Regions from separate parts of the Homo sapiens genome. Here regions 2, 3, 4 and 5 are each linked to region 1. The links are contacts of gene promoters, found by promoter capture Hi-C in blood cells and fetal thymus (Javierre and others, 2016). All regions are on one chromosome and are shown on one strand. The core of a region is centred on a gene start or on the middle of the fragment in contact, and the rest is flanking DNA. Distances in the headings are between cores, read along the strand shown. Region 1 holds the start of RIOX2 (ribosomal oxygenase 2). Region 2 overlaps ARL13B (ARF like GTPase 13B). Region 3 overlaps NSUN3 (NOP2/Sun RNA methyltransferase 3). Region 4 holds the start of PCNP (PEST proteolytic signal containing nuclear protein). Region 5 holds the start of SENP7 (SUMO specific peptidase 7).

What was found. Contacts are between HindIII fragments. The CHiCAGO score rates a contact against its expected background, and 5 or more counts as called.
Region 2: a contact is called between a fragment that was not itself captured here and the fragment with the promoter of RIOX2 in region 1, in 1 of 17 cell types (total B cells). The highest score is 7.1, in total B cells.
Region 3: a fragment that was not itself captured here is called in contact with the fragment with the promoter of RIOX2 in region 1 in 2 of 17 cell types (total B cells and activated CD4 T cells); the score reaches 7.1 in total B cells.
Region 4: the fragment with the promoter of PCNP here is called in contact with the fragment with the promoter of RIOX2 in region 1 in 1 of 17 cell types (activated CD4 T cells); the score reaches 5.9 in activated CD4 T cells.
Region 5: a contact is called between the fragment with the promoter of SENP7 here and the fragment with the promoter of RIOX2 in region 1, in 1 of 17 cell types (activated CD4 T cells). The highest score is 5.1, in activated CD4 T cells.

The regions. Positions count from the first base shown.
Region 1 is chr3:97,970,998-97,973,783 of GRCh38, forward strand. RIOX2 (ribosomal oxygenase 2) reads right to left here and starts at 1,434. Exons shown (of 10, transcript NM_153182.4): 1 at 1,384-1,434. LOC124909398 (a long non-coding RNA gene) reads left to right here and starts at 1,656. Exons shown (of 2, transcript XR_007095976.1): 1 at 1,656-2,786. RefSeq lists an enhancer at 649-908 and a silencer at 1,179-1,618. The HindIII fragment of the contact is 3,966 bases long and covers 625-2,786 here.
Region 2 is chr3:94,049,340-94,052,125 of GRCh38, forward strand. ARL13B (ARF like GTPase 13B) reads left to right here. Exons shown (of 10, transcript NM_001174150.2): 8 at 67-183; 9 at 1,485-1,553. Among named protein-coding and RNA genes, the nearest start is that of DHFR2, 12 kb to the right of the region's middle. The HindIII fragment of the contact is 629 bases long and covers 1,023-1,651 here.
Region 3 is chr3:94,067,309-94,070,094 of GRCh38, forward strand. All of the region lies in intron 2 of NSUN3 (NOP2/Sun RNA methyltransferase 3), which reads left to right. Among named protein-coding and RNA genes, the nearest start is that of NSUN3, 5.6 kb to the left of the region's middle. The HindIII fragment of the contact is 2,789 bases long and covers 1-2,759 here.
Region 4 is chr3:101,572,749-101,575,534 of GRCh38, forward strand. It overlaps PCNP (PEST proteolytic signal containing nuclear protein), which reads left to right and starts at 1,432. Exons shown (of 5, transcript NM_020357.3): 1 at 1,432-1,531. The coding sequence starts at 1,468. RefSeq lists enhancers at 643-1,588, 1,032-1,301, 1,402-1,531, 1,612-1,771, 1,792-1,951. The HindIII fragment of the contact is 5,212 bases long and covers 1-2,786 here.
Region 5 is chr3:101,511,846-101,514,631 of GRCh38, forward strand. SENP7 (SUMO specific peptidase 7) reads right to left here and starts at 1,367. Exons shown (of 24, transcript NM_020654.5): 1 at 1,246-1,367. The coding sequence starts at 1,285. The HindIII fragment of the contact is 4,750 bases long and covers 1-2,134 here.

The sequences.
Region 1 (2,786 bases), core at 184-2,683:
CATTTTCATCTTTTGTCTGTATACAATTTTGGAGACAAACCACAAAGGCCTTACACAAAACAGTTACGGAAAAAACAGATGGCCTGTGCAGAGGGGATTATTTTTCTGATTGCAGCTGTCACTTCAGGATTCAAGAGTATCGTAAAAGCTAAAAGGCACTTTAGACATCAGTAGTTATTACTAAATCGGGGAGGGAAGTATGAATTTCTACATCCCCTGGGCAGTTTTACAGAATGTAGTTCAGAGTTACCAGCAAGGTTGTTAGCATGCAAATTTCTGGGCCCTCATCAAGCCCACTGGATTGCCACTTCTGATGGCTGAGGCCCATAATCTGCATTAACGTAATACGCTCTCTAGATGAATTTTAGGTCCACTAATGGAGGACAACAGTCAAACGCAGCTCAGTTAAACACACGGCTGTCAGAAATTATATATTGCTTGTAACAAGGTTGCCCAGACTGATCTAAAACATTTCTTTTTGGCTCAGAGATATGTTAATCAATCCAGAGGGAAAACTGGTTCTCCTATTGACCTAAAGGAGTGATCAGCAGTTATCTTTTTAGTCTGATTTTAGAGAGGAAACGGACTATACCTCAATGTATTTTCGTGACCATGAGGTTACAAAGCTTGATGTCCAGGAGGCAAAAACCAGTACCAGCAGAAGAAGCTGAGTAAATCAGGTTCCTCTGCTCAAAGATGAGCCCAGTGACATGAAACCCGAGGCACCAGATTTACAGCTAATGAGTGGCGAAATCAGATCCTCTTCCTCCCAGTCTATCCTTCCTGAAAACAGTGAATAACCTGGTCTCAGTAACCTGTTGGACAACCCAGCTGTCGGCCAATCGTTGCGGAATTATTTGCTGGTAAATGAATTGGAAGCATATGATGTAATGCAGCTGCCCTTCTCCCCACACACCTGAACTTCAGATTTCACAGCTGTAGAGCGTGTCTCTTAGGCCCGACATGACGCCCGGCGGCGCAGCCCACGTGGAAGCCGTGCTCGCACAGGCAGTTCTGCCACCACCGGGCGGAGGCCGGCACCACCCTCCTTGCTAAGCCTCCAAACTTTCCGTGCGCTCGTCACCGGTGTCGCGACCATTAGCAGGCCACGTGTGCGACTCTCTGTAACCAAGGCTTCCGCGACCCTACCCCTAGATCCGGGCCCCACCCACCCTGCCCCAGTCTCCGGGGAGGTGGGACGCCTGGGAGCGCGTCCCAGGTCCCGCAACCACAGCGCCGGCCACCGAGGCTTCTCGCCGACCGACAGGTCTCCCAGACCCGCACCCGAGCCCGGGTGCCTAAAGCAGCAGCGCGCGCCCCGCGGGATCGGGCACTACCCGGCCTGCCCCGGCGCTGGGATGCCCACGAGAGCGCCCCACTCACCCGGCACGGCCTGTTGCTCGCGGCCGCGAGCCCACTGCGTTGCGGCGCAGCGGCTGGAGGCGGGGCAGCGTGGGCACGCTCCGGGCCGTGCTCCAGCCCCCGCCCCGCCCCGCCACGCCGGCCCGCAAGTGGTGGCAGCCCGGAGGCCTGGCTACCCGGCGGTGTTCCGCGTTCACGCCCGGGCGTTTCTTTAGTCCATATGGAAGGAAATAAATGGCCTTTTTTTTCCTCTTTTTTTTTTTTTTTTTTTTTTTTTTTTTTTTTTTATGGTATGTGAGACAAGGTCTCACTCTCGCCCAGGCTGGAGTGCAGTGGTAGCGATCTTGGCTCACTGCAACCTTTACCTCCCGGGCTCAAGCGATCCTCCTGCCTCGGCCTCCCAAAGTGCTGGATTATAGGTGTGAGCCACCCACCCGGCTCTCCTTTTTTTTCTTTTAACTTGGGGCGGCAGGAGAGGATTTGAGAGAGCGTTTTGGTGCAACTCCGTTCCTTTTATGAATAGAGAAGCAGGCCTGAAGAGGAATACCAGCGGTGCAAGTTTAGGGAGTTGGTGGTCCGGGTTCTCCCATGGCTTTCTTATGGGCTGTGTGGCTACACAATGCTGATTTGTACAAGCCGAGTGTCATTTATATCATCTCGCTCCGGGAGAGAGAGTCAATCCTAGTTTTAAAAGATACTGGAAATTCGTTGCGACTATGGCTATAGAAACAGAAGAAATGCAGTTATCTGAGTCCTTTCAGCCTAACACTCCCTGCTTTGGAACATTTGGTTCCAGTCAGGAGGCACAAATGAGGGAGCAGGGAAATCAGTGGCGGGCCTGTGCCTTTCTTTGCTCTGTAGACAGCCAGAGGACCCAGAGGAAGTCGACATTTCGTTCCGTCAAGGTGACTGAGACCAGTGGCTGCTTCTAAGGATCAAGTGGCACATGAACAAATGGGAACAAAGTACACCCTTGTCTAGTATTTGTCTAAAACTAACAATAATAGCAAGTCTTGAATTGAGTTCTTCCTGGCTATAAGGCACCACGCTAGGTGTTTCAAATACTCCTCACTTCATCCTCACTACAACCTTGCAATTACCTCCATTTTACAGTTGAGGAAACTGAGTCAGGAGAGGTTAACTAACTTGCACAAGATCACACAGCTAGGAAGATGCAGAAACAAGATTAGAGCCAAACCAGTCAGTCAACTGTTGGTCTTTTTCACGTTTTACTAATACTCGTATAACTAGTAAGTTTCCTGGCAGGTTCCAGTTGGAAAAACTCGAGGGTAACATCAAATTTAGCCCTTACAGGGTAAAAAAGAATAGTCAACAGCAAAAATCTCTAGTTGATATGATATTGGTAATGTACTTCGCTCTTTATTTTGACTGCAAGACATCTACTCAAGATAATATAGAATAAT
Region 2 (2,786 bases), core at 87-2,586, 3.9 Mb before region 1:
TTGTTTTCTATTATAAAAGTGCACTTTTTCATAAAGACATGAAGTTTCATGTTTATATTCTTGTAGCTAATGGTAAAAAGAAAACTAAGAAACTAAGAATGAAAAGGAACCACCGGGTAGAACCACTTAATATAGATGACTGTGCTCCTGAGAGTCCAACGCCACCCCCACCCCCTCCTCCTGGTGAGTAAATTGATACTGATACTGAATTTAGAAATATTGCTTTAAACAACAGAGAAAAAAAAAAAGAAAAAAGGAATCTTGTCATTTTTATTCTGTATATTCATTATCTTGTATACTTGTGAAGAAGAATCTTTTACTCTGATTTGGACAAAATTTGCTAACACAAATGTCCATTGCTTTTTTGAATAAAAAAATGTTTTATAAAGAAAAAAATAAGTAAAAACTATTAAGAAAATTTTACCCAGTATTTCCTAGAATATGTTCAAGTTCTATTTGAAATATCAGTACCCACATGTTAATTTAAGTTTCACGATGGATGGCTAACATGAGTTTTTAAAACATTGAACCGGCTCGGCATGGTGGCTGACACCTGTAATCCCAGCACTTTGTGAGGCCGAGGCGGGCAGATAACCAGGTGAAGAGTTCGAGATCAACCTGGCCAACTTGGTGAAACCCCGTCTCTACTAAAGATACAAAAAAAAAAAAAAAAAATTAGCTGGGCGTAGTAGCACATGCCTGTAATCCCAGCTACTCAGGAGGCTGGGGCAGGAGAATCGCTTGAACCTGGGATGGAGAAGTTGCAGTGAGCCAAGATCACTCCATTGCACTCCAGCCTGGGTGACAGGGTGAGACTCCATCTCGGGAAAAAAAAAAAAAAAAAAAAATTGGACCTTTCATCCTGAAAGTTAATGTTTGAAACCAAGATGTATTAATTTTTTCTAATACATTTTCAATATACATACCCATGTCCTAAGTTGTTACGAGGATTAAATGGAGTAATGCATATAAAACACTGGGACTTAACTTGCACAATAATTTTGAGTAACTTTTCAGCACTAAGCTTAGCACCTCACCTACTATAGGTGGTCAGTAAATATGTAATGACTAGATAAATATGTGTATAGTGCCCTTATAGCCCTGCTACAAGGCTTTAGAAATTATTTGGTAACATTTTAAGAATCTCTTATAGACTCATTTCCAGTATTCCATTTATTAAGAAAATATTTAGTTTCTGCCTAGAGTTAGAATGATAGCATGAGTTTGTTTTTGATAGTGGTGAAGGTGCTTATAGTTTTTATTAAAAGCTACTGAAAAGTTAAAGCAGATGTTAGCAGCCTATAATTACATTTTAAAATATAGAAGCCATTTAAAATGGGTTTCTGGCTTTCCATACTGTCATTCAATATATTTGAATTGACATTGAATGTTACATATGCTTCCTTTCCAGGGAGGGATCCTCTCAACAGACCTAAAGAAACCTTGTTTAACAGTGTTTTTTAAATGTTTTTCTTTTTCTTTAGTTGGCTGGGGAACCCCTAAAGTCACTAGACTTCCAAAACTTGAGCCTCTTGGTGAAACACATCATAATGGTAATGCAAAAGGATTGGTTTTCAGATATCATCTGTACATGTCACATTCACTTTTCTTTAGCCTTATAATTTCAACAAACTTATGTTTTAGTTTTAGAAGCTTGTCAAATCCACAGCTATCCTTTTTCATTATACGTCTTTTTTCATTTTATTTAATTTTTTATTCTTAAGTATGCTTTACATCTATATCATTTAATTTGGTGTTTACCTTAGAATACAGAGGTAAAAAGAATCATAGCTTGTGTTTATTATCCATGATATATTTATACAAGGAGTTATAATAAAAAGGAAATGTTTTAAAATAATTTAACTATGAGACATTAGAATTTATAACTTAAGTGTTAAAAGCTGTAGTTTCCTGTATATGCTCAATATACTCAATGATAATGGCACATAATTTTTTCTCTCTACTCCTAATAAGACAACCAGCTGCTGAACATTAAAGTGAAGTAAAGATCAACACAGTTTATAAAATCAGAGATCAAATCAGTAAACCTAATAAAGTTCGACTAAGTAGAAAGTTACTAACATTTTTATTGAATTAAGAGAACAGTTTTCTTTGAATATAACATACGCTATAGTCTAGATAGTTTATGGCATTAGAATTCTAGGATGCAAAAACTAGAGGAAGGATATTTAGGAGAAGTAGAGAACTGCCTTATAAAACAAGGAGAAGTTCTGATTACAGACCATCAGTCTAGGTCCCTTCAGTAAAATATTTCTAGAATGCAAAAGAATTATAGATAAATGTAGTTCAATAAACTTGTTTGTTAAGAACATCCAATTCCTTTTTGGACAGCTCTGTGTTTACCTAGTCTAGAACTTGGTTTCACTTACTAGGAAAAAACTCAGAAGTTTACTCTTTAGAAAAGCATTACCATATAATTTGAAATTATATCAAACCAGTTTAAATATTTTTGTTTAAAAGGTACTTAAATATAAATGTGCTATTTGCTTTTTTCCCCCAGAATTCTATTTAGGTCAGTATTGAAATATTTCTTGATAATCGTTAGTGAAAATTCATGAATTTTTTTTTTTTTAAAGACAGAAAAGTTTGTCCTTAGACTCCATCAGAATTACTGAAGTGGTATTTTCAGTGAAATCTCATCTCTCTGTTTAGTTTACTGACTTGACATCGTGATGTTTATATTGACTACAGTAGATTTATTTCTTTATTACACAACTCTTAGTGAACTTGTGTACGTTAGAATACATTGTCAATATAAATATTCA
Region 3 (2,786 bases), core at 115-2,614, 3.9 Mb before region 1:
GCACTATGAGTCTCTTCCTGTGATTGTTTTTAATCTGTATGCTTTCATTATAATAAACTGTGACTATAACTGTGATTATAACAGCTTTCAGTGAGTTCGGTTGTGTCCCAGTGAATAATCAAACCTGAGAGTCATCCTTGGAATCCCTGAACTTGTAATTGGTGTCAGAAGTGAGAGTTGTCTTTGAGACTCAACTACCCTGCCCCCTTTTAATTTGGATCTTTTTAAAAAAATTCTCTACTGCTGCCATTCACTTAGACCTTCCCAATCTCTTATCTGGCATATTGCAACAGCCATGTTTAGTACTTACCTGTTTGCTTATTTTAGCAACCACTTTTATGGCACTATGTACCAGTCAATGTTGTAATCACTTTATGAATAATAACAATCCTATGTACAACCCTCTGAAATAGTTATTTCCATTTATATATAGGAAAGCTGAGGCACACAGAGGTTAAGTAACTTGCCCAAGTATACACATCTCACACTTTAACTTGCCCAAGTATACACATCTAACACTTTGAAGAGCCTTGAGAGTTTGTTGTACCCACTCTGTCATGCTGTTTCTCGGTGCTACCAAATTCCATTGTGTCACACCTTGAGTACAAACCTTTGCTCCCCAGAAGTCTGCAGTATTATGTTTGGACTAAAAATCTTATCTTTCTGGGCAGGCTCCTTCATGCCTTTGGGACTGGCTATGCTGTTCTTCTGCTAGGAATGCCTTTTTCCCTTCTCCCTCTGTGCAGTAGTGTGGGTTCAAATCCCACCTCTGCATCTTGTAGCATATGACCTAGGTGAGTTAATATCTCTGTGCTCCATTGTCCTCGTCTGTAAAATGGGGAAAAAATAGTATCTATTTCATATAATCATTTGGGAAGATAAAATGAATTTGTGTATATACAATGTGAATGGAATGTTGTTTGACGTATAGTAAGGACTTCATATGCATTAGCATTATTTTTGTTACTATGATTAACCACTTCATCAAGCCTTCTGTATGTCCCTTGGCAAAATTAGTTTTGCCCTTCGTGTATCCATTGCATTTTGTTGATAGAGCTATTGTGATTCTTTCAAGGTTTTATCGTCATAATTTACTAACTTGCTTATCTTTTTCCTGACAAGGGAGGGTTTTGAAGAACCAATACCTTGAGACTTGGGCAAGTCTTCTGCTTATTCCCAGTTTTGTCAGTGTTTGTGTACTAGGCATTGTGCTAAGCACTGAGAATACAAAAATGGACTGTATATATCCTGCCCTCAAATACATGTATGATTAATTGGATAATTAATGGATACTTAATAAATGTATGATTAATATAAGCATTAATTAGAAATATTTATTAACTGTGGAAATTTTACATGTACTTTATAGAAAGCAAAACAAACAGACCATATAAGTCTGAACTGTCTGCAACATCTTTTTTTTTTTGGACACTCTCCTCACTGACCGAGAGTTCACATACAGAGAGGAAAAAAAAATACACACACACACACACACACACATACACACACACAACCTGATAATATTACCATAATCTGTGAAGGATGTAGACTGAGGTGGTTAAGAAAGAGAGAAATGAACCAGTATCTAGATTTCTATATTGTCCTATATGTTGGCTTTACACACATTTTCAGCCTTAATCTGTGCAAATCTCTGTGAAGAAGTAACTTTTAGACACTTTAAAGTCAGAGGTTAGAACAATTGATAGGTATCTTGTAGTTGTGGCAAATTCAGTCCTGTGACTTAAAAGTCCACGCCTTTTCCTATACCATCTGTGCTGCTGTGAAGGGTCCAGAGTTGCATCCTTCCAAATGTATGCTCAGATCCCGTAGTATGAAGGACTCTTATGTTCAGGATTTTTAGCCTTTTGATGTTCCACCAGAAACGCAAAGGATTTCCTATCTGAGGTACAGTGAATAACAAATCTGGACATAAATTGCCCTTCTGTGAGATACAAGGAAGATCCATTGCCAAAATAGAATAGGAAGCCATCAGCTCTTCGTTAGCATCTCTGAGGAGTAAAAATAAAATGACTCAAAAACATACTTTGGTGCATTTCCATAAATTGATTTGTTTTTCATTTCTAACTTTTAAAAGAGTTGAATGAGCACCCTCTAGTGGATAATAATAGCACTAAATCAAGGAATTTCTCTTTTTTAGCTATGGAAATTTAAATAGGTTCTGTAATCTACAGGGTTATATTAATTGTGTTTAACAATTTCTAGATTAAATGATATTTTTCATCTTCGTCACTAGGACGGAAGGTAGGGTGGAGAGTAGAGTAGTAGGAAAAAAGAATAAAGTCACAGAAAAGTTGAATGAAAATTATACTATCAAATAATAAACATTATCGAAATGATACATTATACAGTTTTGCAAAATTTTAACTTAACTAGCTTTTAATTTTTTAATGCTTTAATTTTGTTAAAATAGTAAGTAGTTCAGAGAGCCTTGAATCAGAACTCCAATTTTATTCATTTACTCCAGGATTTAGGCCCCAGGCACTTAGCCAAGGAGAAAAATAAGTCAAGGCTCCCATATAAATGAGTTAGGGAAATGGGTAAGCAGGCAGGGTGACACACAGTGTGATATATTAGTTTAGCTTCATTAACTGTTTCTCAAAATTCAGTTATTCTTGTGTACCATCTGTCTAGTTTTACTTAATTTTTTTTTGGTCAGTTTTAATATTTTTCTTTTGTTTCTTAGGAATTTTTCTTTTGTTTCTTAGGAATTTATTTTTCTTTTGTTTCTTAGGAATTTAAGCTTATTTTATATCATTATCAGTAAA
Region 4 (2,786 bases), core at 182-2,681, 3.6 Mb after region 1:
ATGATAGAAACGAGAGTCTCAATGATTACCTTGAAAAGATCACAAGGAAAATGAAACAAACATGAATTAAGTACCTGTAAGATAGTTTGCTGGTTACTTTTACATATATGATAAATGATGGATCAGGGACTTCAACCTAGATCACAAAATCACCACCACACTGCCCTGCTTCTGTCATGGGAAACACACTTTGATAATTTCTTCATTCTTTCTCCACTCCCTGGACTTGAAGCCCGAGAAGTAATCCATCCGCAAATATTGAACACTTTTTATATTCATATATGAAACGCACAGTACACAGTTTTTAAAAACTGGTCTCTGTTGTCAAGGAACTTTTGAGCCATTCAGAGAGACAACACTTAAAACACACACACACACACACACACACACAAACTGAGGGAAGTATGAAGTGACCAAATAATGGTATACAAAGATGATCTCATTTGATCCCTATTACCACTCTTTGAGGAGGTACTATTATTATTGCTCTTTTATAGAGAAGAAAAGGTAGCTCTGTAGGCAGTAAGCAAGTCTCAAGGTTACTCAAGCAGGAAAGGGCAAAACAGATTCAAATCCAAGTTCTGACTCCTAAGACTTTCTCTAACTATATATGGTAAGACAAACCCAGAAACTCCAGTTCCCTAAGCAAGTAATAGACCCCATTTGGCTAGGAGGGCTGGATAAATACTGAGAAAGGGGGAAGATGAAGCCGAAAAGGTAGGCTAGGGCCTAATGTAACTCACGGACTTCAGAATGCAGACTGTAGGAATCCACTAAAGGTTTCTTATTAAGGCAGAAATTACTGCAGTCTTAACTTGACATAGTAGTTTCTCAACTTGGTAGAAGCAGACTATACAAAAAGTAACTTTACAGTTGGCTACGTGACTTAGACAAATTACTCTCTCTGACCTCAACTCTTACAGGTAATTGAGAGGAGAATTCTATATTTGGACAATCGCCGTGATTAAACGAGTGTATGAAAGGCGTCTGAAGCTAGGGGGCGCTAGATAAACACTGATTTCCCCTTTAGGGAAAAAGAATGCAGGCTTTTTGTTTACATAGAGTTGGCAGGCATGCGTTATCCAGCAAGGCCGGAACGGAAGACACTCTCAGCCTCAGCTGCAACCACATCTGGGTATGCAGAAACCTTCTAAGATCCCAGCGTTTCCAGGGAGATGCTCCATTTCCCCTCACTTCTCCGGACCTGTCGCTAGACCATGAAGACCTGACTGCCCTCTAATAAAGTGCCTAGCCAGCACTCTTAGACCGCCCAACCTTCCCAGCTCTTCCTTCCGAGGCGGCTACTCGATGACATCACATCCACTTCCGCTTCCGAAGGCGGCCTCTTTTCATTCCTCGGGACCGCTCTAGGCTGCCACCACGCCGGCTGGCCCCAAAAACTCGATGGTTGTTGGGCGGGGTCGTGACGTCCTTGGCGTGGCTGCAGGGGAGGCCGCGGCGGGGAAAATGGCGGACGGGAAGGCGGGAGACGAGAAGCCTGAAAAGTCGCAGCGAGCTGGAGCCGCCGGAGGTGAACACAACCCCAGCGTCGTGGGCAGCGTGGGATGCTCCGGGCCTTTCTTTGAGCTCCCAGGGTGGGGGGAGTGGGGTGGGGCGAGAATGGGCGGATCTGGACCTCACCCGGCCAGGTGTTGGGCCCAGACCTGCCTCGGGCACGCCCGATGCGGCCCTCTGGGCTCCGGGCCTACATCGCCTCCTTGCCTGGGGAGAGCCGGCCACTGTTCGTCACCTCCTGGCCCCAGCGGAGGCCCTGATTCCGAGGAGAAGGGAGATGGGCGCCAGAAAGGGAGACCGAACTCGGGGTGGGACCAGGAGCGGCGGTGCAGGAGCCGCTACCGCCACACCGGAGACGCACATCACACAAAACACACACACCGGAGACGCTCATGAGACATAACATACACACAGTGCGAGCCACCGAGTAGTTGCCGCGGGAACTGGCCGCAGGCTGAGTTTCTGACGGTGCCGGCCTCTCAGTTACACGCAGGAGTTAATTACGCTTGCTGCTCCCTTTTCACTGAGGAGGTGGACAACTCCGGCCTGCTCTCTTTCCTTTACTTCCAAGTTTAATATTGACCCTGTGACAGGATGGGCCGAGGTGATGGAGGGGAAGAGGAATGCCTTTGCCTGCCCTCTGGTTTAAGCTGCGGGGTCTAGGGCTAAGGTTTGGTTGCTTTTCTTTGAAGTATCTCCCTTAGGCTGTTGCCAGCTGACCGCTTGCCAGATACTTAGGCGACTAAATAGTCTAGCGTGACTCTTCCTGTATTTTGTTACGACGTTAAACTCAGGTTACAGCTATCCTTATTCTGTCCATTCCACTCCCTAAATTCGGGTCTTGTGCGTGAAGGAAAAGAAACGTAATCTCTCCAGCTCCCTCTTTGCACATAACAAGACAAGTGACTTAACACGTGCGAGCTGTTTAAAATGTTTTTAGAACATTTTAAACATTATTCTCTATTCTGACCACCTTAGTTATCATTCCCGAAATTATTTAATATGAGAAAATAGAAACGATTAATAGCATATGAAGGCCACTAGTAGACCTACTAACATAATGTTTCATGTTAATTGCCTTGGGAACAAAAATTATTGAAAAGATTAAGTGTAATGTTAATTACTTTGGACCCAGGATTTCCTTTTTAAAAAACACGTACAATTCTGTTAGTTAAGCTGGAACTCCATCTCTCTCTTCCCTCCCCACCCCCTGTCTTTTTTTTTTTTTATAACTAGTAAAATACCTTATGAAAGAACAATTTAAATTTAAA
Region 5 (2,786 bases), core at 117-2,616, 3.5 Mb after region 1:
GTCTCGCTCTGTTGCCCAGGCTGGAGTGCAGTGGTGCGATCTCGGCTCACTGCAAGCTCCGCCTCCCGGGTTCACGCCATTCTCCTGCCTCAGCCTCCTGAGTAGCTGGGACTACAGGCGCCCGCCACCACGCCCGGCTAATTTTTTGCATTTTTTAGTAGAGACGGGGTTTCACAATGTTAGCCAGGATGGTCTCGATCTCCTGACTTTGTGATCCGACCGCCTCGGCCTCCCAAGGTGTTGGCATTACAGGCGTGAGCCACCGCGCCCGGCCAATAAATCTGTAATTGTTAACTGTCTCTGCAGAAACCAACGGTACCATCAGAAACAGAAAAATGAAATGAAATAATTGATTCATTGGGCGTTCGTTTGTGTACTGGACTGTAAGCATATGAGTCCTCGTCCTCTCCTCCTACCATCCATAGGACTTAACACAAGGACTTGAGGACCCCCTAATGGATGAAATGTTTGATAAAAACTTCTCAACTGGGAGGAGCTCTACCTCACGTTTTTATAACTCCACTTTCTTGTTTCCAAGACGTTGTACACAAAACTGAAGATAGTCATTTAAAACAAAGTAACGTCCAAAACAAAAAATATGCTGAAAATAAAAACACAACGAAAGCACGGCTTCAAATCCTTTGTTTGACTTTCCAATCACTTTTGGAAGACGCAGGGTAGGCTGGAAAAGAAAAAGGCTATTAGGCGGGCCTGTTCAGCAGAACGAGACCCGGAGAGGCATTGTATCAAAGAAAAGGAGTCTCCGGTCGCAAGCCCCACCTTTCCTCCCCAGCAGCAGCTACCTGCTGAGGGAAAGAGGAGGGAGAGGGGAAGGGACGCAAAGTCGAGAATCAAAGGAAGAGAGGAAAGTGGGGTCAGGCGCTGAGAAGCCGAAATGAAATTGGAACATTGGTGGAATTACGAGGAAGGCGTGGCAGAGAGTGACAAGCCAACCGGGAAGATCCATGGGCCGATGAGACGCAAGGAGGGTGTTCGCGGGAGGAGGGAAAAAATAAAAGGGGTTTTGAGGTGAAGAGCGCCCGAGGCTTCGATGACAGCTCGGACCGGGTCTTCGACTCCAGGGGCGGGGGCGACCCGGGAGCCTTCCATTGTGCGCGCCCCTTCCTCTCCCCGCCCCCGCCCTCGCCCCCGCGGCTTCGGGCCGCAACCCCAGCTGCCGCCTGCGCCTCCCGTTTCCCCCGGGTAGGAGACAATATGTTCAGCCCTTCTCTGACCCTTTCTCACCGGATGAAGATGGCCGTCGCCCGAGCTTTCTCTTGTCCATCTTCTCCCGCTGCTGAAATTTCAGTTGCAGGCGCTGTCACCTCAGGACCCCTCCGGCTTGGAGAGGGAGGGGGAGGGGAAAGGAAAAAAAAAAAAAAAAAAAAAAAAAAAAAAAAGCCCGCAAAGTGCGAAGCGCGCTTGCGCAAGAGCCGTCGCCTGCCCTTCGACCGGAAATCAGCCGCCCCTCCCACCTTCGACCGGAAATCACTTCCTGGGACTTTTCACTGTGGGCTGCCTCTTCCAGCGTTTTTTTGGTGGCGTTTATTTCATGATCTGAGCCCCTCTGGGGAGGTGAACCACCTGGGTGCTCGATTTTAGCTTTGTTGACTTTGAAGATTAGATTGACAAAAATTAAAAGGGAAAAACAGGAACTCCTCCGGTTCACTGGATCTCGCGAGGTGGCCAAACAACTATGAAAACAAAACGTTAGCGTTTGCAGTATTACATCCCTCACAGCCTCTCTTACATATTTGCCCCCAACGCCTTTCCTCGAACTCAGAAACCAAAAGATTTTAAGATGGCAAAATCACCTAATAATAGCCTAGCTATTAGTTTAGCATTTGCTGTGGAAATATGTCAGCAGACGAGGAAAAATGTCTTAGGATTCCTTTTTAAAATTCGAACTTGTGATTTTTAAAGTTCCTTAAAAGAAAAGCTAGAACTTAATTTTTCAATAACTGAAATGCTGATATGACAGAAAGTGGGTGGCTATAAACTTGGAATTTGTTCAATTAACATTTACCACGATACTTAAGGGACTAATCCAGTCCTCAATGAACTCAAGGTCTGGTACTATTAGCCTGATTATCCCTAATGGTGCATATCTGAATAATTTTTAAATGCACGTGTAAGCTTTCATGACGATTTAATCACAAGTTTAACAAAATTCAGCACAGTGCTCTAAGCAGGGAAAATGTTTCTGGCATGTTCAAAGCCCGAAGGGACTCTGGAAGTAGGGTTTGATTCCCAAGCTGGCCCCTTTATACCCCTAACGCCTATCCCTCCAACCCCCATCTCCCATCCTAACGGAGTCAATAAAGGGATCGGCCCAACTCGTCCACTAGAGCAGTCCCCTTCATCGTGAGTTAAGCCTTCTTAATTATAATGTGGTCAGTCCCCAGGTAGAGGTAAGGCCCCAGGTGTTGTGGGGTGTTGGGCCTGGGGAAGTGTTCTACATGGCAGGAATGACTGCAAAGCAGAAATACTTTAAGTCTTGCTGGGATTGAAGTTTACTGTAAGGATTTCGTTTTATTTGGTTAATTTCTGTTTAACAAAAACATTGCTTTCTGAAAAATAATTGAATTTTCAGTTTCCTCACAAATTAACTTTTTTTTTTTTTTGAGACGGAGTCTCGCTCTGTCGCCCAGGCTGGAGTGCAGTGGCACAATCTCGGCTCGCTGCAAGCTTCACCTCCTGGGTTCACGCCATTCTCCTGCCTCAGCCTCCCGAGTAGCTGAGACTACAGGCGCCCGCCACCACGCCCGGCTAATTTTTTGTATTTT